Linked DNA regions of Homo sapiens: all the other regions are linked to region 1. Evidence: promoter capture Hi-C in 16 types of primary human blood cells and fetal thymus (Javierre and others, 2016). All regions are on one chromosome and are shown on one strand. The core of a region is centred on a gene start or on the middle of the fragment in contact, and the rest is flanking DNA. Distances in the headings are between cores, read along the strand shown.

The links. The method cuts DNA at HindIII sites, captures the fragments that hold promoters and counts their contacts. A CHiCAGO score of 5 or more calls a contact.
Region 2: a contact is called between a fragment that was not itself captured here and the fragment with the promoter of KLF6 in region 1, in 1 of 17 cell types (neutrophils). The highest score is 7.0, in neutrophils.
Region 3: a fragment that was not itself captured here is called in contact with the fragment with the promoter of KLF6 in region 1 in 1 of 17 cell types (neutrophils); the score reaches 5.2 in neutrophils.
Region 4: a contact is called between a fragment that was not itself captured here and the fragment with the promoter of KLF6 in region 1, in 1 of 17 cell types (neutrophils). The highest score is 5.4, in neutrophils.
Region 5: a fragment that was not itself captured here is called in contact with the fragment with the promoter of KLF6 in region 1 in 1 of 17 cell types (neutrophils); the score reaches 5.2 in neutrophils.
Region 6: a fragment that was not itself captured here is called in contact with the fragment with the promoter of KLF6 in region 1 in 1 of 17 cell types (neutrophils); the score reaches 5.7 in neutrophils.
Region 7: a fragment that was not itself captured here is called in contact with the fragment with the promoter of KLF6 in region 1 in 1 of 17 cell types (neutrophils); the score reaches 5.9 in neutrophils.

The regions. Positions count from the first base shown.
Region 1 is chr10:3,783,917-3,786,519 of GRCh38, reverse strand. It overlaps KLF6 (KLF transcription factor 6), which reads left to right and starts at 1,311. Exons shown (of 4, transcript NM_001300.6): 1 at 1,311-1,607. The coding sequence starts at 1,506. RefSeq lists silencers at 402-461, 642-921, 1,172-1,771, a promoter at 573-1,510 and enhancers at 1,377-1,932, 1,933-2,489, 2,490-2,603. The HindIII fragment of the contact is 8,520 bases long and covers 1-2,503 here.
Region 2 is chr10:4,273,918-4,276,520 of GRCh38, reverse strand. No RefSeq gene overlaps it. Among named protein-coding and RNA genes, the nearest start is that of LINC00702, 31 kb to the right of the region's middle. The HindIII fragment of the contact is 4,067 bases long and covers 1-2,603 here.
Region 3 is chr10:3,302,651-3,305,253 of GRCh38, reverse strand. It overlaps LOC105376356 (a long non-coding RNA gene), which reads left to right. Exons shown (of 3, transcript XR_930566.3): 3 at 1-131. Among named protein-coding and RNA genes, the nearest start is that of LINC02668, 46 kb to the right of the region's middle. The HindIII fragment of the contact is 1,087 bases long and covers 740-1,826 here.
Region 4 is chr10:3,337,404-3,340,006 of GRCh38, reverse strand. All of the region lies in intron 1 of LOC105376360 (a long non-coding RNA gene), which reads right to left. Among named protein-coding and RNA genes, the nearest start is that of LINC02668, 81 kb to the right of the region's middle. The HindIII fragment of the contact is 6,556 bases long and covers 1-2,603 here.
Region 5 is chr10:4,220,025-4,222,627 of GRCh38, reverse strand. The region is part of intron 2 of LINC00702 (long intergenic non-protein coding RNA 702); the gene reads left to right. Among named protein-coding and RNA genes, the nearest start is that of LINC00702, 23 kb to the left of the region's middle. RefSeq lists an enhancer at 2,267-2,603. The HindIII fragment of the contact is 3,462 bases long and covers 1-2,603 here.
Region 6 is chr10:3,362,270-3,364,872 of GRCh38, reverse strand. The region is part of intron 1 of LOC105376360 (a long non-coding RNA gene); the gene reads right to left. Among named protein-coding and RNA genes, the nearest start is that of LINC02668, 110 kb to the right of the region's middle. The HindIII fragment of the contact is 5,911 bases long and covers 1-2,603 here.
Region 7 is chr10:3,389,690-3,392,292 of GRCh38, reverse strand. The region is part of intron 1 of LOC105376360 (a long non-coding RNA gene); the gene reads right to left. LOC105376358 (a long non-coding RNA gene) reads left to right here. Exons shown (of 3, transcript XR_930568.3): 3 at 1-592. Among named protein-coding and RNA genes, the nearest start is that of LINC02669, 110 kb to the left of the region's middle. The HindIII fragment of the contact is 4,211 bases long and covers 1-2,603 here.

The DNA.
Region 1 (2,603 bases), core at 62-2,561:
AGACTCACTAAGGTCCCCACCTAGTCTTACAGCCACATGCTTCTGCCGGACCCTCTAAAACTTAACATACAAAACCCTCTAATTTTTTTTTACATAGTCCATTCTTTCAAAATGTTTAATGTTCATTAAACTATTTTGAAACAAAAACTATAATACAGTTACAATTCAGTTTTCCATTTTGGATTTTAAAATGCTCTGGTTCGAGTCTCGACATTTTTCTTAAAAATGAACATTACGGTATATTTTAGGAGATAATTTATATGGAAAAAAACACACACACTAAATGTCGGCTTGCACCTAAATTGTTTACACGTTCATGGGAAAACCTAGCTGTTAACCTTGGTGAGGGCTAAGATCGCCCTCTACAAGATAAACACGTTTCTCCCAATTCCAAGGGGAGCCTGCGTGCTCCCCTCCCCCACTCTGGTGGCCCGGAGGACAGAGGGGACCCTAGGACTGGAGGGGGACGGAGACGGGCTCAGGGATGGAGGGGGACAGAGAGGGACCCGGAGGTGGAGGAGGACAGAGAGGGGTACCCCAAGGTTAGAGAACAGAGGATGACTAGGGGGATGTAGGGAAACAGAGCGGCGCAGAAGAGGACAGTTGGGGACGGGGCGGCCCCGGGCATAGAAGGGGACAGTTGGCGACCGGGAAGCCCCCGGCGTAGAAGGGGACAGTTGGGGACGGGGCGGCCTCGGGCATAGAAGGGGACGGGGGGGAACCGGGCGGCCCCGGGACCGGACGGCCGCCCGCAGGGTGAGCTGCCGGAACCGGGGCTCGCGCGGCGACAGGGCCCGGCTTGGTGACCGGGACGGGCGTGGGGTGGCGGGACCGGGCAGCGGGGAAGAGAGACCGGGACTGGGGACAGGCGACGCGGCCCGCCCCGGCTCTCCCAGCCCCGGCTCCCTTAGCTCCGGCCGCGGGCGCAGTGCAGGGCTCGGCCGCGCACCTCACAGCGCGGACTCCTCCGGCGCGCGGCCGCCCGCGCCTTATATACCCTGCTAAAAATAGCCTGCGAGGCCACTTTCCAATCAGAACGAGCAGAGTTCGAATTGAGCCAATGGTGCGGGCCGTGATGGAGAGTCTCGGTCACGCCAGGCGGGGCCGCTGTGTGTCGCCGCCTGCGATTGGCCGGAGCTGACATCATCGGCGCGCAGCCCCCGGGCCGGGAGCCACGGGATTGGGCCGCGCACGGGGCGGGCGCGGGGCGAGTCACGTGGGGGGAGGGGGAGTGGGGGGAGCCAGGCGGGGGCGGAGGGGGAGGCTGGCAGCGGAGCTTTGAATAGGGAAGTTTTGCAGGGGTTACGTTTGCAGTCAGTCCGGTGTTTGCAAATATTGTGTGGGCTCCGCGCGCTGCGGGCTGCGGGAGGGTCCGGCCGGGCGTCTCTGCGAGCCTGGAGTTTGCATGAAACTTTCACCTGCGCTCCGGGGAGACTTTCGGCTCCGGCTCCCACCGCGCGCCTCGCCGCCCTCGCGACCGCGGGCTCCGTCCAACCCGGCCCGACATGGACGTGCTCCCCATGTGCAGCATCTTCCAGGAGCTCCAGATCGTGCACGAGACCGGCTACTTCTCGGCGCTGCCGTCTCTGGAGGAGTACTGGCAACAGGTAAACGCAGCCGGCCGCGGTTCCCTGCGGGCGCCGGGGCGCGGGCCGGGTCGGCTGTTTGGGGTTCAGACCCGGTGCTCTCTGCGGTCCGCTGGGCCTGGGCCCCGCGCTGTCACCGGGGGAGCGGGCGCAGCGCCCCCGCCGATCGATCCTCCAGGCTGCGATCAGCGTCCGCCCAGGGAAGCCCCAACTCCCGGCACAGCCCGGCCGAGCCCCTGGCACGAGTTCGGAGCCTGTCCCCGCTCCAGACGCCACAGCTGGAGCTTGTCATGGGGACCAACTTGCTCTGCCTGCCAAGGTGTTTTTTTTTTGTTTGTTTGTTTTTTGTTGTTTTTTTTTAACGGATTTTGTTTTTGTTTTGTTTCTTGGTGCTTGTACTTAACAGTTTTTTAAAAAAATCACATTTTGCCCCCAGAACGTAGACCAGCTCTCTTTTATTTTTGTCTTTTTTAAACTGTAGACCATTTCCAATGTGTTTTCTGCTCTTTGGAATGCCTAACATTTCCCCTAGATCTGCCTTATTTGTCTTCCCTGCTTCTCTTGTTGACCAAGAAAAATAAAAATAAAACTGTGTACACCCCAGTGACTTGTCAGTCTTGTGACAATGAGCCCGTCCAAACTGCTTCAAGTCTTAGTTTGGAAAGAAGGACCTCGGTTTCCGACATTGTCGTAGAACTGGAATTTGGGGGCATTGGAAATTTAAGAAACTTACCAGGTCCCCGTGCTTATAGGTAGCATCGCCCGAGGGGAGAGAGACTGACACTCCTCCCATTGTCTCTCCAGCGATCGCAGGAGGGTTTACTGTTGTCTCCCTGCCCTGCTGTGCTGTTTGTTTTTCGTCACAAAGTGAATTGCCAGATCAAATAGAGGCTGTGGGTTTCCAAGCCTCGAAAGCTTTAAGGAAGATGAAATGCAGGGTGTTGCAACCTTCACACGCCTGCTTAATTGTTCACAGTCCTCTCCTGCCTTTTCCCCCTCCCCCTCCTGTTTTTTTCC
Region 2 (2,603 bases), core at 27-2,526, 490 kb before region 1:
TTGCAGGGGAGAGGGCATGAGGCTTCTCACTGTGCACTGCACACTTCTAATGTGAGGTCTAATGCAGAGTCCTGGATGAGCAGGGGAGAGAAAAAGAGAGAAGCCGTGGAATCTGACTGCTGTGGGCCTGGCGTTCTAAGTGCACACTCCACAAGCGAGGGCCACAGCCATGTGCAGGTCACACAGTCCTCTGAGCAGCAGCCTCCTCCCCTATCAAACGGGGATCACAAGGGCAGGCTTTTCACAGGATGACCATGATGACAAAATGAGGATGCATGGGAGACAACTCTAAGGACAATACTGCTCCATAAAATTCATTGAGTATTGTTATTGCTTCTGTTGTTTTTCACCTGCAACCTCTGGCACCCAAATTGTAGCATCCTCTTCAGCTGTGAGCTGCCGCATTTACTCACTTATCTCCTTTATGCTGAACAGTATTGAAAGTGTTTTTCAGGGTAGGCAGGTTTAAGGCAGGGACAAAAGTAGATACCCTTCTTCTCTGAACACTTTAAAACATATCTGCTTCATATGAATTAGTAATTAAGTACCATAGTCCTGCCTTATCCACAGTTTCACTTTTCACAGTTTTAGTTATTGGTGATACAGTGAAATAAGAGAGACCAAATTTAGATAACCTTTTATTATAATATATTGCTATAATTGTTCAATTTTATTATTAGTTATCATTGTTAATGTCTTACTCTGCCTAATTTGTACATCAAACTTGGTCATAGATTTGTAGGTATAGGAAAGAACATGGAGTATGTGGGGCTTGGTAGCATTGGAGGTTTCAGGCATACACCCGGGGTATTGGAATGTATCCCCCATGGATAAGGTGAGAACTGTTGTTAACATTAGGCTAAGAATCTTAATCCTTACTATTTCAGTATCATTTTAATTTTCAGACAATTGATAGAGGTAAAAGTCATGTGAGTAAAATTTTTCAATTCACAGGATAATAGAAAATAAAATAATATCCCAAGATTTAAAGAATGAACAGATATTGTATGTTGATATTTTGTAGGTTATATATAATCTCAGTTTTGTTTTTTTTTCTAAATACAGTAAGAAAGTAGCCTAGGTCAATTTAAAACTAATTATCACAGAAGTTTTGACTCAATGTAGAAATTGTCAAAATTGTATTCTCTCAAAAAAACAGTTTTGATAATGTTATCAAGTTTCCTAACTAGAAAATGCTGATTATTGACAAGATCATATTATAATGGTTTTCCTTGAAGGAAAAGGGGGAACACAGTACATTAGTTTTTAAAGTTGTTTAAGATATACATGACTACAAGTTATACTTTTTAAATTTTTTTTAAATTTTAAGCTCTCGGGTACATGTGCAGGAAGTGCAGGTTCATTACGTAGGCAAACATGTGCCATGGTGGTTTGCTGCACCTATCAACTCATTACCTAGGTATTGAGCCCAGCATGCATTAGCTGTTTATCCTGATGATCTCCCTCCCCCCATCCCCCAACAGACCCCAGTGTATGTTGTTCTCCTCCCTGTATCCATTCTCATCATTCAGTTCCCAGTTATAAGTGAGAACATGCAGTGTTTGGTTTTCTGTTCCTGCATTAGTTTGCTGAGGATAATGGCTTCCAGCTCCATCCATGTGCCTACATAAAACATGGTCTCATTCCTTTTCATGGCTGTGTAGTATTCCATGGTGTATATGTACCACATTTTCTTTTTCCAGTTTATCACTGATGGGGATTTGGGTTGGTTCCATGTCTTTGCTATTGTTAATAGTGCTGCAATAAACATACTCATGCATGTATCTTTGTAATAGAATTATTTATATTCCTTTGGGTATATACCCAGTAAGGAGATTGCTGGGTCAATAGAGTGGGATAAAATTTTTACAATCTGTCCATCTGACAAAGGTCTAATGTCAAGGATCTACAAGGAACTTAAACAAATTTACGAAAAAAAATTCAAACAACTCCATTTAAAACTGGGCTAAGGAAATGAACAGAAACTTCTCAAAAGAAGACATTCATGTAGCCAACAAACATGTGAAATAAAACTCAACATCACTGATCATTAGAGAAATTCAAATCAAAACCACAGTGAGATATCATCTCACTCCAGTCATAATGGCGATCATCAATAAATCAGAAAACAACAGATGTTGGCGAGGTTGTGGAGAAATAGGAATGCTTTTACACTTTTGGTGAGAACATAAATTAGTTCAACCATTGTGGAAGATGGTGTGGCTATTCCTCAGAGATATTATACTTCTTATTCAGTCTTTACTTTTTAAAATTTTGCTTGCTTCGTTATAGACTAAAAGTCTATTGTGTACTAAGATGAGGTAATATTTGTGTTCTCATCTAAAGTTGTCCTGGACATTTCAAAAGTGCATAGTCTGCAGGTTTTGGCTATTAAAATTGTATGACTTTTTTGTTGGTCAGAGTTTTCCAGAGAAACAGAAATCACAGGATGTTTCCATATGTAGATGTATAAGTAGAATAAGGAATTGGCTCACATGACTATAGAGGCTAAGTCCCATGATCTGCCATCTTTAAGCTGGAGACACAGGAAAGTCGGTGGTGTAAATTCCAGTCTGAGTCTCACAGCCTGAAAATCAGCAGAG
Region 3 (2,603 bases), core at 34-2,533, 480 kb after region 1:
GGCTGGCAGAACTGGGTTTGGGCCCATGCTACGCAATCCAGACATGCCTGTAGCATCCTTTGAAGGGACTCAAGTCTGTAGGCGAAAGTGTGAGTCTAGGAGCCGGTGAATTTGCATCCAGAGAGGGGGGGATCTTGGGAAACATGGAGATACCCCCATTTCTACACATTTCAGTGTAGCTAATTCAAGATTGAAAAAGTAAGAATGAAGTATATCTGATTTTTCCAGTAAAAAAAAAAAAACCATCATAGCATGTCATCTGAAACTGCTGCTACTACAGAGAGATTAGCAGGATCTCAAAGTTAGTTAAGATTGGTGGAGGGTCTCTTTACTTACGACCACAAAGCTATTTAAATGCATATGTTCATGACATACAGAAAGGTTATTTGGAACTGGTTTCAGTTGAAGGACGGCTTTTTACCTAACAGTTTAGACTCAATATTGTCACCTCACTCCCTTTTCTCTCTCTTCCCCAGTCTTCCTCCATCTCTTTTCTCATTTTCTCTGTATTTTTCTTTCTTTCTCAGTACTCTGTCTCATAAAATTGTTCAATACTTTTCCTGGATTATTTAAGAAGTTAATAAAAACTCTCTGTCTTCCCTTTAGTTATTCAAAGGCTTCTATTAAATCGTTGAAGGAAATAAAAAGAAAACTGACAATAATAAAAATTGAACATGGTAAAGTTTGCTGTTGGCTAAAAACAAGCAGAAGAATCAAATTTCAAAACAATTTTAAAGCTTCCCAGGTTACCTGAAGGAAAATAGGGCTGCCTCTTCAAAAATTATGGTTGCACAGAGCATCCATGATGCAGAAGCTCTAATCAGTAAAACTCGATATGGGCAAAAAGTGAATCAATGAATTCAACTTTTGACAAATATTTAAATGGAAAAAATCAAATAGAATAATTTCATAAAAACATGTTTTCTAAAATGGTACACAAAGTTTAGAAATGAATTAAATTGCCTTGATGGAATTCATTTTCTCTATGCAAATTTGTCAATCTTGCCAAAAATTTGACTAAAATGTGCTTACATAGAAGGAATGTTTATGAGTACAGAAACCCTGAGAAGTTATAGTCACAGGAATTGCAATACTTTTCTCTTCTTGCACTATACACACACACACAAACACACACACAGAAGTCGTTTTGTGAAAATGGAATTAAATCAATGAGGGTGACACAATACCTCCTTTGCATTTCAAGTAAGGGACTTCTCCCCATTAATGGTAGGCTAGTATTGTAGGCTAAATTGTGTCTTCTCAACATTTATATGTTGAAGATGTAACCCCCACTATCTCCAAATGTGAGTGTATTTAGAGATAGGGTCTTTAAAGAGGTAATTAAGTTAAAATAAGGCTGATGGTGTGGGCCCTAATCCAGTTTGACTAGTGTCAAATGTGGACATTCAGAGACACCAGAGCACATGCAAAAAGATGGTGCTGTGAGAACAGTGAGAAGGTGACCTGTACAGGCCACGGAGAGGGGCCTCAGAAGAAGTCAAAACTGTCAACACCTTCATCTTGGACTTCCAGCCTCCAGAGCTGTGATCAAATAAATGTCTGTTGTTTAAGCTGCCTAACTGATGGGTTTTTGTTATGGCAGCCTTAGCAAACTCATACAATTAGGTGATGTTTGCCAAGTCTCTCACCCAGACAACTGAATACAGAGAATAAAATATATTTAATGTGTTTGAAATCACTGGAGAATAACAAGGCAATGAAGATACAATCCAGAAGAATGTAAAATCCATACTTATAAACCTGACATTTGAGTACATTTTCCTCCAAGGAGTTCCTCTGATTCTCAAAAGGGGGACTGAGAAGCTTACAAGCTGAGTGAAGCTTTTGGCAACCTTATTAGGGAAGGAGAGCAAATATCAGAGTCTAGGTCTGCCAACAGGAAGAACCCTAAAAGACTAAACCCTGGAAATAAAGATAAGCCAGAAAGACGTCAGCATTCACAGGAGCCCAAGTTCAGTTTAAAATCCTATGAGTTCCATAAATGGACTACGTTGTTGCAGGAATTCTACTGCTCCTGGCCACTGCCGAAAGCAATGTGCATTCTCTTTGAAGAAAGGTAATAACATCTTATGCATTTAATTAGACGTAAAGTTTTTTCATATACAATGTCTAGCACTCAATCAAAAACAATAGAGCACATAGAAGAAAAAAATGTAAAACAATGGACAATGGAAACAGAGAGGGATTTAGATGGTGTTATCAGATATGATTTACATACTTAATAAACTTTTTTTAAAGCGTTAAGGAACTGGAAACTATAAAGAAAGAACCAAATGGAAATTCTAGAACAAGATACAATAACCAAAATTAAGAACTCACGGCCAGGCATGGTGGCTCATGCCTGTAATCCCAGCACTTTGGGAGGCTGAGGTGGGTGGATCATGAGGTCAAGAGATCAAGACCATCCTGGCCAACATGGTGAAACCCCATCTCTATTAAAAATACAAAAAGTTAGCTGGGCGTGGTGGTGCATGCCTGTAGTCCCAGCTACTTGGGAGGCTGAGGCAGGAGAATAGCTTGAACCAGGGAGTCAGATGTTGCAGTGAGCCAAGATTGCGCCACTGCACTCCAGCCTGGTGACA
Region 4 (2,603 bases), core at 53-2,552, 450 kb after region 1:
CATTTAGACCGGAGACCGTTGTGTTTAGGGTGTCTCGTGAATTGCGAACTGCACAGGGAGCTGAGCGTGGTATCTCTCCACCTTCCTCCGCCCAGAGCCCTTGGCTATGGCAAGACCCTGCACCAGGCCTCCCAGCTAGGGAAGCAGCAGCTCCGTGTGCTGTGCATGTGGCTTCCTCGCTTCCTGGTGAGCACATCCTCTTATGGGCTTACTCATTTCTGTCTGAGAAAAATAAATAAAATACTAAATAGCATGAGAACAGCGAGACATTCATCTTGTTGTAGACAGTGATCACACAGCCAGGAACTGGGGTGAGCAGGGACCTCATTTCCAGACCCTCGGGATGCCTGGAGGCGGCTGGACAGCACCGAGTTTCTTAGCAAAGTAGCTATTGTTTAAAGAGCAAAAGGGCTACACAGGAAGGCAGCAGGCAGACTGGAAGAGCAGTGTCCACTTCACACATATCCCTGACACGCAGTGACCTTCCCGAAAATGGGCTCCGTGTATCGTCAGGTCTGGTGAGATGAGGTGTCACCAGGTGTTCCAAATCAAAAATGCATTTGTGCTGGGAATGGGGGAGCTTTCTAAAGTCAGATGCATCTGTGACATGGTGGAGGTTAATGGTGTTGAACAGAGCTCTTCAAGAAAACTTGTCCCACCCCACACGTAACCCTGGCCACACACAGCCACTGAGCCAGGGTGTCTTGTGAATCATACGGGTTCGGATTAAGATGCTCATAAGGCCAGGGTCAGTGGCTCATACCTGTAATCTCAGCTCTTTGGGTGGCCAAGGCCAGCCTGAGCAACAGACTGAAAGCTCATCTCTACAAAAAAATTGCTTTAAAAAAAGATGCTCATTAAATGCAAAAACGGACACTGGATTTCTTAGTCTTGATGTGAAAAAAGGAGTCAAAAATGCCTCATTGATGTGTTCCTACTGGTTACATAGTAAAGTGATAAGATTTTGAATGCACTGGGTTAAATACACCATTAAAATTGATTTTATCTGTTCCCTTTTTACTTTTATCAGTGTCGTTATGAGGAGATTTTAGTGGTACTTGTGATTTACCTTGTGTTTCTATTGGCCAGTGCTCAGACAGGACTTCTCACAATCTTTAATATGCCAAATTGCCTTGTGTGTCCCTAAGAGATGATGTAGCAGTCAGCATTTCCAAACTAACTTGACCCCTACACTCTATCTTATAGAACATTTGTCAATCTCCCTGACACAACAACTTTCCACAGTAAATGGTTTCAGAAACCTGTCATACCAACACTTGCATGTGAGGCTGGGTCCAATTCAGACTCAGCTACCTGCCACTTTCCATCTTCTGACAAATCCACAACAATTTTCTATGCATTTGCCTTATTTGTTAACTGAAATTATCAGATACAGCCGAGAGACCAGCACTATTGGTGATACATTTTTTAATGCTCAATTCATTCATCTTATAATCTGTCAAACAATTAATATTCTTTCAATATTAAACATCAATATTTCTAAATATTTACACATTTTTACAGATATTTAAACACTCAGTACAAATTTGTCCCATTCAACTAAAATATTATTAAAACCCATTGTTATATCTGTCCATTAGACACAATTATTTTAAATGTTTCGATCATCTTTAAAAGTGTACAGAAAAAGGTCAGATGAGGTGGCTCATGCCTCTAATCCCAGCACTTTGGGAGGCCAAGGTGGGTGGATCACCTGAGGTCAGGAGTTCAAGACCAGCCTGACCAACACTTGGTGAAACCCCATCTCTACTAAAAAGACAAAAAATTAGCTGGGTGTGGTGGTGGGCGCTTGTAATCCCAGCTCCTTGGGGGGCTGAGGCAGGAGAATTGCTTGAACCCAGTAGGCGGAGGTTGCAGTGAGCTGAGATCGCACCACTGCACTCCAGCCTGGACTCCATGCTGAGTGACAGAGACTCTGTGCTTGCCACCCTCCACCCCCACCCGCCGCCCCACCCCCGCCAAAAAAAAAAGTTACAGAAAAAATATTCGACTATGAAGTGAATTACAAGAGTCGTTGTTAGAAATATGCCGCTCAGCTGGTTTCAAAAGTACTCACATTTCAACTCAACCTCAGTTAGGAGGTGGATTTTTGCATGTGTTGGATAATTAAGTCCTGAGTTTGGTTGAACTTGGAAAGTATATCAGAAAAGTAGAATGAGCAAAGACCCAAAAGGAAAGAAAAGCCACAGCCACATTTGGGAAACCCAGCCACAGGTGGAGGACTGGGGAATGCCATGGCCTCCTGTACAGCAGGAGATGTGGGCAGGTGTCCTGTCTTCAAGGCTACCCTGGAAGACCTGGGGCCTCAAAGCAGCACTTTTGTGGGCTCACACCTGAACACTTCAGCAGAAAGACGCAAAGGAAAGATGTGTATGTAGTTCTCTCAGAAATTTTTTTAAAATGGTACCATAAAATCAATCTTTTAAAAATGTGTGTGTATGTTTTTAGCCAAAAAGCTCTAAGCCAAGTGTGTCCAACCCGCAGCCTGTGGGCTGTATATAAGCCAGGATGGTTTTGAAAGTGTACCAGCAAAAATTGGTACACTTTCTTAAAATATTATAAGATTCTTTGCAATTTTTTTT
Region 5 (2,603 bases), core at 67-2,566, 440 kb before region 1:
CCTGGCACTAGATGTTGAGACTAGATGGGTGATTAGACATGCTTTTTGCCCTCATGAAATTGTAGACTACTTTTAAAAATATTCAGTTTACCATAATTATATGTTCTGGGAAAGTTGTTACCATATGGGTTTTTTTTTTTAACAAATCCTATTTTCCGTAGGGAATAATATACCTATTAGAAAAAATGGGGCAGAATAAAGTGAATATTTTTATGCATTTTAAGCACAAATTAAATATATTTTCTTCAAATGTATATTTGATCAATTGATATTTGATTCATACATAATGCATAAAATGTTCTTAATACTCTCTGAAATTTGAATAAAAACAAAGACATAATTGCATAAAAAGGCAGACAGTCTCAATATGTTATAATAAATAAATAATGTTTGCTTTACAGAGGCTCATTTATAAGAACAGAAGCAACTTACTATTTTCTGGGAGAAGAAAAGTCTTTTCTGAGAACAGCTGATAAAATTTCATTCCTTTTGAGTTTTCTGAACTTGTCCAATCCCTGTTGAAGTATATTTTTAAACTTATGACTAGATTTTCAATTCTACAGATAAGTAATACCTAGAAAATATATTTGCATCAATGTGCTTATTTTTGCCAGCTTTGACAAAAAAAAGCTGTATTTTAACTAAATAAAAATAAAAACCTTCCTTTTATTTAGGTTTTACATATGATATTCTTCATATGTGAAGCTGTGAATCCACCATCCCAGGGCTTGAATTTTTCTTCATTGGTCATGATGGATTTATGTCTATTTCTCCTCATCAACTGATATCAAAGAAGTTGTAGGATATCTCAGGGGGCTGACAAAAGGAATCTGTGGTTAAGAAACACAACACAGATTGTTGCCCCTGAAAGCTATCCTTGAGCTAGACCTTTGAAAAGAGTTCTTTGCCCACTTAACCACCCCGATTTACTTTCAATTATGCACTTAAAAAATAAAGTAAAATTTCTACAGTTGAAGGAAGAGTATGTTTTGATATAGTTTGGCTGTGTAGCCACCAAATCTCATTTCGAATTATAACCCCCATAATCCCCACATGTCAAGAGAGACCAGGTGGAAGTAATTGAGTCATGGGGCAGATCTTTCCCATGCTGTTCTCATGACAATGAATAAGTCTCATGAGATTTGTGGTTTTATAAAGGGGAGTTTCCCTGCACAAGCTCTCTTGCCTGCTGCTATGTAAGATATGACTTTGCTTCTCCTTGGCCTTCCACCATGATTGTGAGACCTCCCCAGCCATGTGGAACTGTGAGTCCATTAAACCTCTTTTCTTTATAAATTACCCAGTCTCAGATATGTCTTTATTAGCAGCGTGAAAACAGACCAATACAGTTTATAACCAAATATGCCCAGGCCACTTCCAGTGTGTGAGGAGGAGACACCAGCCTGTCGATGCCATGCCTGCACAGGGTCTCCACCAAGAAAGCACAAACGTGCATTTTTCACTGCCCAGCATTTTGCAATTCTTTATTTTTATATTAATCATTTCAATCTCGTTTTGCATGTCATTTTATTCATACATTTTAATTCTCCTTCCTTTAAAGTACGTCAGCTTATTCATTGCTATTATTATTGCATTTCATAGTCAATGCTTATCTAGAGTTATTTATCCATTTATTCACTCTCTTTTGCTTCTTTGAAATGTATTAGATCCTCTCATCTATCTCTTATCTCATTTTTTTTTCTTTCTCTGTTTCTCACTTGAGAAGAATATGTATGCTTCTCGCGTCAATTATCTTTTGAGTAAGGTCTCTAATCCTGACCATCCACCCATACCTGAGTTTTGACATTTTTGTATCAATTTGATATTCCTGTAAGACTGACCCACTTTTAACTTCCTCATATTCCAGACCTGCACAGCATGTTCATCTTGCTAGACATCCTCTCTACTTCCTTTCTGGCAGTAACATTATTTCAGTAGCCCACCAGCAAGTTTCCTTCTTTCTGGCTTTTCTTTTGTTTAAATGCTTTTGTTTACCTGCTGTCTTAATCAGGGGTGTCCAGAGAATCAGAAGCAATGGGGGATATAGACATATATCCCATATATTTCCTATATATGTATCTATCTATATAGATAGTTATCAATTTATATCTATATAGTTATCAATATATCTATATAGTTATCAATTTATATCTATCTATATATCTATATAGATAGAGATATTTATAGATACTAGCTAGATACAGATATATAGATATCTATATCTATATGTATGTATTTATTATGGAAAATTGGAGCTGGAGACCCAGGAAAGCAGGTGGTGTGACTGCAGTGCGAGGGCAGGAGAAAACCTTTGTTCCAGCCAAATGCTGGGGCAGAAAAAGGAAGGGGGCAGGGTAGAATTCTTTCTCCCTTAACCTTTTGTTTTATTCAAGTCCTTGAGGAATTGGATGATGCCCACTCACTTTGTGGAGGGTAATCCGAATCCACTTTACTAAATCCACCAGTTCAAATGTTAATCTCATCTAGAAACACCCTCACAGACGCTCCTAGAAGTAATGTTTAATCTGGGCACCACATGTCCCGATCAAGTAGACAATAGGATTAGCCATGCTCCCTGCTATGTCATATCATTCATGTCATTG
Region 6 (2,603 bases), core at 42-2,541, 420 kb after region 1:
GGGCTGGCTTTTCCTCCTGCTCAGTGGCTCACAGAGGAGGCTGCTTTTTCAAACCAAGTAGCCTATGGAAATATTAAAGACACTATGAATAATGATGCTTGTTCTTCATTATTGTATTTATTTTAGTTTCTAGCACTTCAGTTAGTTTGTAACTTTAGTTAGTTTACAGCACTTGATCAACTTACAATTCACAAATAACACTTTCACCTCTGGAGGGAGGACTGGAGTTCCAAAGATCTCCACTTGAATTCCGGCGTTCTGTTTGTTGGACAAGGGCATGTTATTTGCTGGGTCTCTGTTTTTCCTTTCTTCTCCCACAGTAAAGTATAGATTCATAAAAGTACCTAGCACATAGACTGGGCACGGTGGTTCACACCTGTAATCCCAGCACTTTGGGAGGCCAAGGTGGGCGGATCACCTGAGGTCAGGGGTTTGAGACCAGCCTGACCAATATGATGAAACCCCGCCTCTACTAAAAATACAAAAATTAGCCGGGCGTGGTGGCATGCGCCTGTAATCCTAGCTACTCAGGAGGCTGAGACAGGAGAATCGCTTAAACCCGGGAAGCGGAGGTTGCAGTAAGCCGTGATTGTGCCATTGCACTCCAGCCTGAGCAACAGGAGCGTAAACACCATCTCAAAAAAAAAAGTACCTAGAACAGAGGTGAATCTCAGGACAAGTGGAATCTGGGGTTTTGTCTACCGCCTCAAGTAAGGAAAAGCAGAGATGCCATCACTTGCTTAAAAAGACCACCCAGCTAATGAAGGTGGGGCTTGGATAGGAGCAAAGGTTCTGCGGAGTGAGCCCTTGTTCAGGAGGACTGCTAGGTCAAAACTACTTGTTTAATGCTAAACAAATCATTGTTTAGGATTATTGTTACAAAATACTATTATAGTCACAACACATGACTCTTCATAGTATTATTCCAAGACTTTCCTGCCTTCACTCTCATTCTCTCTTGAATGTACAGTGGAGTATTCCAGAGGTTATGTGATGTACACTAGTGCAGTGTATTGAATGTGAAAGCAGAGAAGACCCAGCTGTCTTGCATTAAGCCAGACATGAACAATTTGCAAAAATGTAAAATAATGCCATTCTTATCTCTAATTTTGTTGGAGATTATAATGACTTTTCATAAAAATATTTATATTAACATGTAGTTGGGTCATTGTTCTTATTTGTAAATAAAGTAATAAACAAATATCTTAAAATGTTCACAGTTTAAAATTTAAATTTGGCAAATAGAGATAAATGTAAGCACATAGCAATAGCTCTGGAAAGCCACATTTTTTCAGAGCGTAGAGAGATCCCGAGACCACAAAGTTTTCAGTACCGCTGAATCTGAGAGTGTTTCTCAAACTCTGATGAGTGTATCCATGACCAGGGCCTTGTTGCAATGCAGATTCTGGGACAGCTGGTCCAGGAGAGGCCTGAGAATCTTACCCTTGGTAAATGTGGCTGTTGAGCTCAACATAGTTCACTGTCAGAGCTTGGGAGGAATGGGAGGTTAAGTTGGAGCCATGGCCTGTCTGCTGTGACGCTGTGTCCCTGGGGGAAAGGGAAGCCTCTCTGTGTCCTACAAACCCTCTCCAGAGTCCAGTGGGGTGAGGCCTCATGTGCCCAGCCACTAAGCGGGCATGACACATGGGGAAGACAGTAAACAAAAACAAAAACCATGTCAAGCAAATCCACGTTGGCTTCAGGGTTAGGGCGTCCTGGTTATCCTGGCAGTTTGAGAGAGAGGCTGTCAGCATGGGGTACACAGGGGGTTTTTAATTTGGGATTAGATCCCTTTTGTTCTCATTTACTTTGTTGATCTTTTTATTCTTTTTTCTTGTCCTCCTCATAGTGTTCATTGCAAAGCATTAGTTTTCTTCTCCATGTTTTTCTATTCCTTGACTAAAAATTAGTTTAGATTATTAATAGAGATATCATATCTTCAAAGTTCATAATGTTTAACTAGCATTGGCTTATGGTAGGGCAGGCTCCAAGATCTCCTCTGCTGCAGGGACAGATGGTGGTGGTCAGGTAAACCCAAACAGCACCGATAACCTCACCAGTGGCTCTGGGAGGGGGAGAAAAAGGAAGGTTTATCATCTACTGGAGAGAAAGGTATGAGAGTTGGAGAAGACAAAGACATTGAATTCAAATTACCTTCACTTTATGAACTAGGACATTAAGTGTTCAATACCCACAGGTTTCCATGGTAGCTGTCAGTCCTGACTCAGATTTCACAGGAACAGAGGTGAGGAATTAGTCAGAGGGTCCCCACTGTCACAGAGGAAGAGTGTGTGGGCTCTTCAATCTTGTGAGAGTGTACATCAGCCTCTCCAAACAAACACAGTTAAAAAATAAAGGGAGGAAAGCTGTCAGTTGAGGGCCTTGAGTGTACTTAGTGGATAAAATACTTTGTTCCTCATGGAATAAATCTCTCCACTGACAGATTCAGAGCAACACTCTCCTTTAATGAGAGTTAAATGCCTATTTCCTATGCTCTGATTGGAATATTTCCTCTGTATGCCTCTAGAAAGGCTTGTTCTAATAAGGTATGTATTAGGGAAAAGGGATACCATTGGAGTTAACTAACTCTTTCACTGACTTGA
Region 7 (2,603 bases), core at 55-2,554, 390 kb after region 1:
AGCATGATAGGGTTTGAACTACACATGTTGCTCCTCTTATTATAAATGCCTAATCCTTAGCTGAAACTATTTGTCACAATAATATCCTGTAGTGAAGACTTTTACAAGATAATTACATGGTGAGTAAACAAGGCAGTGTTGTCTTTTATCTGTTCTAAATGGGATGTCTTCTAATTTTATCACCTACCTTTTGTTCATATATTATTGGGCAGGGTAAATAAGAATCACTGAACAGCCTTTCTAAATCATTTGTTATTATCCATGCTACTATTTCTATAAACTAATGAGCAATATTTAGTGCTTACGATCTTCCCACTTTATAAACATCAGCTTTCATTGTTTCTGCATTAGGTGGAGGAAATATTGAGCCCAGCTTTCCCTTTGAATGCTTACAAGGTTGCTTGTAAAATATTCTTCTGATGACACAGACTGGAGAGAACTGTGTCTTTAACCTATTGCATTTAACCCAGGGATGCTCACTGCTAGCTGAGGGTGGCCCAAAATGGAGGCCACAAATGAACCTCTTCTCTACTCTTCTTTCCTTTTATCCTCTCCTTTCCTTTCTCCTTTCCCTTCCCTTCCCTCCCCTCCTCCCCTACCCTCTCCTTTTTCTTTCCTTTTCTTTCCTTTTTTAAAATTTTTTCTTTCTTTCTTTCCTTCCTTCCTTCCTTCCTTCCTTCCTTCCTTCCTTCCTTCCTTCCTTCCTTCCTCCTTTCCTCCCTTCTAACATTTATGGACACATTACCATGAACACAGTGGACGCTGTTGTTAATTCCATCTTAAAAATGAGGAAAATGAGGTTTTAAGAAGTTAGGCAACTCATCTGATGTTACACATCTGAGAGGTAAGAAAGCTGTACTGAAACCAGGATCACCTGACCCTGTGATACAGCCTGTCACTCATTCACTTCATGTCTCTCAGAGATCTCTTCACGTGCCAGTCTCACTGCTCGGAGGAGCACAGAAGTCTCATTGGAGAATATCTGGGTAGTACCAGATAGGGAACCTGTCCTCAGAAAGCCACCTTTCTCACCCAGATACCCCTTCGGCTACTTGATAGATCACCTGTCACGCCCATCACCTGTGCCTATGGTCAGCGTCTCCCCACACTTGCAGCTGCTCTCAGTGACTAGGGCAAAGTCTGACTTTGAAAGCTCATTTCAGGTGCTATGCACGTGACAGTGTACCAGCAATGTCTGGCTTGTTCCTTCTCCCATTCCTTCAGGGGTGGTCAACCAATTCTGAGAAGGAAGCCCTGCCCCCATTCCTCCATCCCCACATCCCCGTCGTCCTCGGCTCCCAGCTCTGCCCTTCCATTTCTGGCATGCCGGTGGGTCGAGCATTGTCTGCCTTCTGGGGAACACAAACCCTTTTGAGTTGTTGGGAAGTTTCTGATGCGTGAGTTGTTGGGAAGTTTCTGATGGGGTCAGCTCTGGTTCTCATGGGCCATTAAAGTTGGATTGTTGAGGGCTAGAAAGGAAGACAAAAGTGCATGTCCTGAGTGGAGGTATGAAGGGTGAATGGGGACCGGACCCTGAATGGATGCCCTGAGCAAGCGAGGGGTCTACCAGATGGAAGCCCAGAGGTCCGAGCTGATGTGGAGGACAATGGACAGGGAGGGGCAGTGCCCACTGCTTGTGCAATGGTAAGAAAATGTACAGAGGGAAGGACAAACCCCAGGAGCTTTGCTCAAATACCCAGCCGCCCTGGGACTCCCAGACACGCAGGCCCAGCCTACAGTCAGGCACCCAGCCAGGTAAAGCGCCCATCCCTGGAAGGGGGTTTTTGCCCCATTGCTACTGGAGTTCATCATTGGTGGTTTATTATGATGGAGCTTGGACAAACTACAAATGGGCACTGGGTGTATCTAATGCTGTATGTGAATACTATTCATTTTTTAAAAGTATATAATTCAAATAAACATTCTTTAATAAAAATGAAAAAAAGAAATAGTGTTAAAAGCACCAAAATTGTGTGTTATAATATTGCATGTACAATGAGATAAAGGTGATAGCCCTACCTGGTGTACAAATACTTAACTCTAAAGTCCTGAGTGTAAAAAACAAGAAATACAAAGCCATACAATAACTACAATGCAGAAAAGTTGCACTACAGAGCAAAAGGCAACAGTGAAGACGTTTGGAGATTTTATAGCATTTCTGTAAGTACTGCAAATCCCCACACTGGCTGCCAGGACCCCTGGCCGGATGGTGATCATGGTGCTGGGGTGTTGGTTAGATTGCACCTCCAGGGTAGCAGAGGGTGTTTGCTAATTATTGGAGTGGAGATGGTTACCAAGCCGCCTGTCTCTGAAAATCTTGCAGAGATATTTTCTTTGTACCACAAGGCTAAAATTAAGCAGTGCGATGTTTTGTGATATAAAAGTGTGGGTTTCTCGGCCAAAGAGTTTCCCAAAACTGTCACTGCCAGACTTTCCCAGGGACCAGCACTCCAGAGGGTTAAAACAGTTTCCCATCAGTGACTGTCTTTCAAGAGGTCAGCTGTGTGTGTGTGTGTGTGTGTGTGTGTGTGTGTGGTTGTGTGTGTTTGTACACAGATGTGTGTGTCACAGGAGAATTTTTTTTTAAACAAGTGATTTGCAGT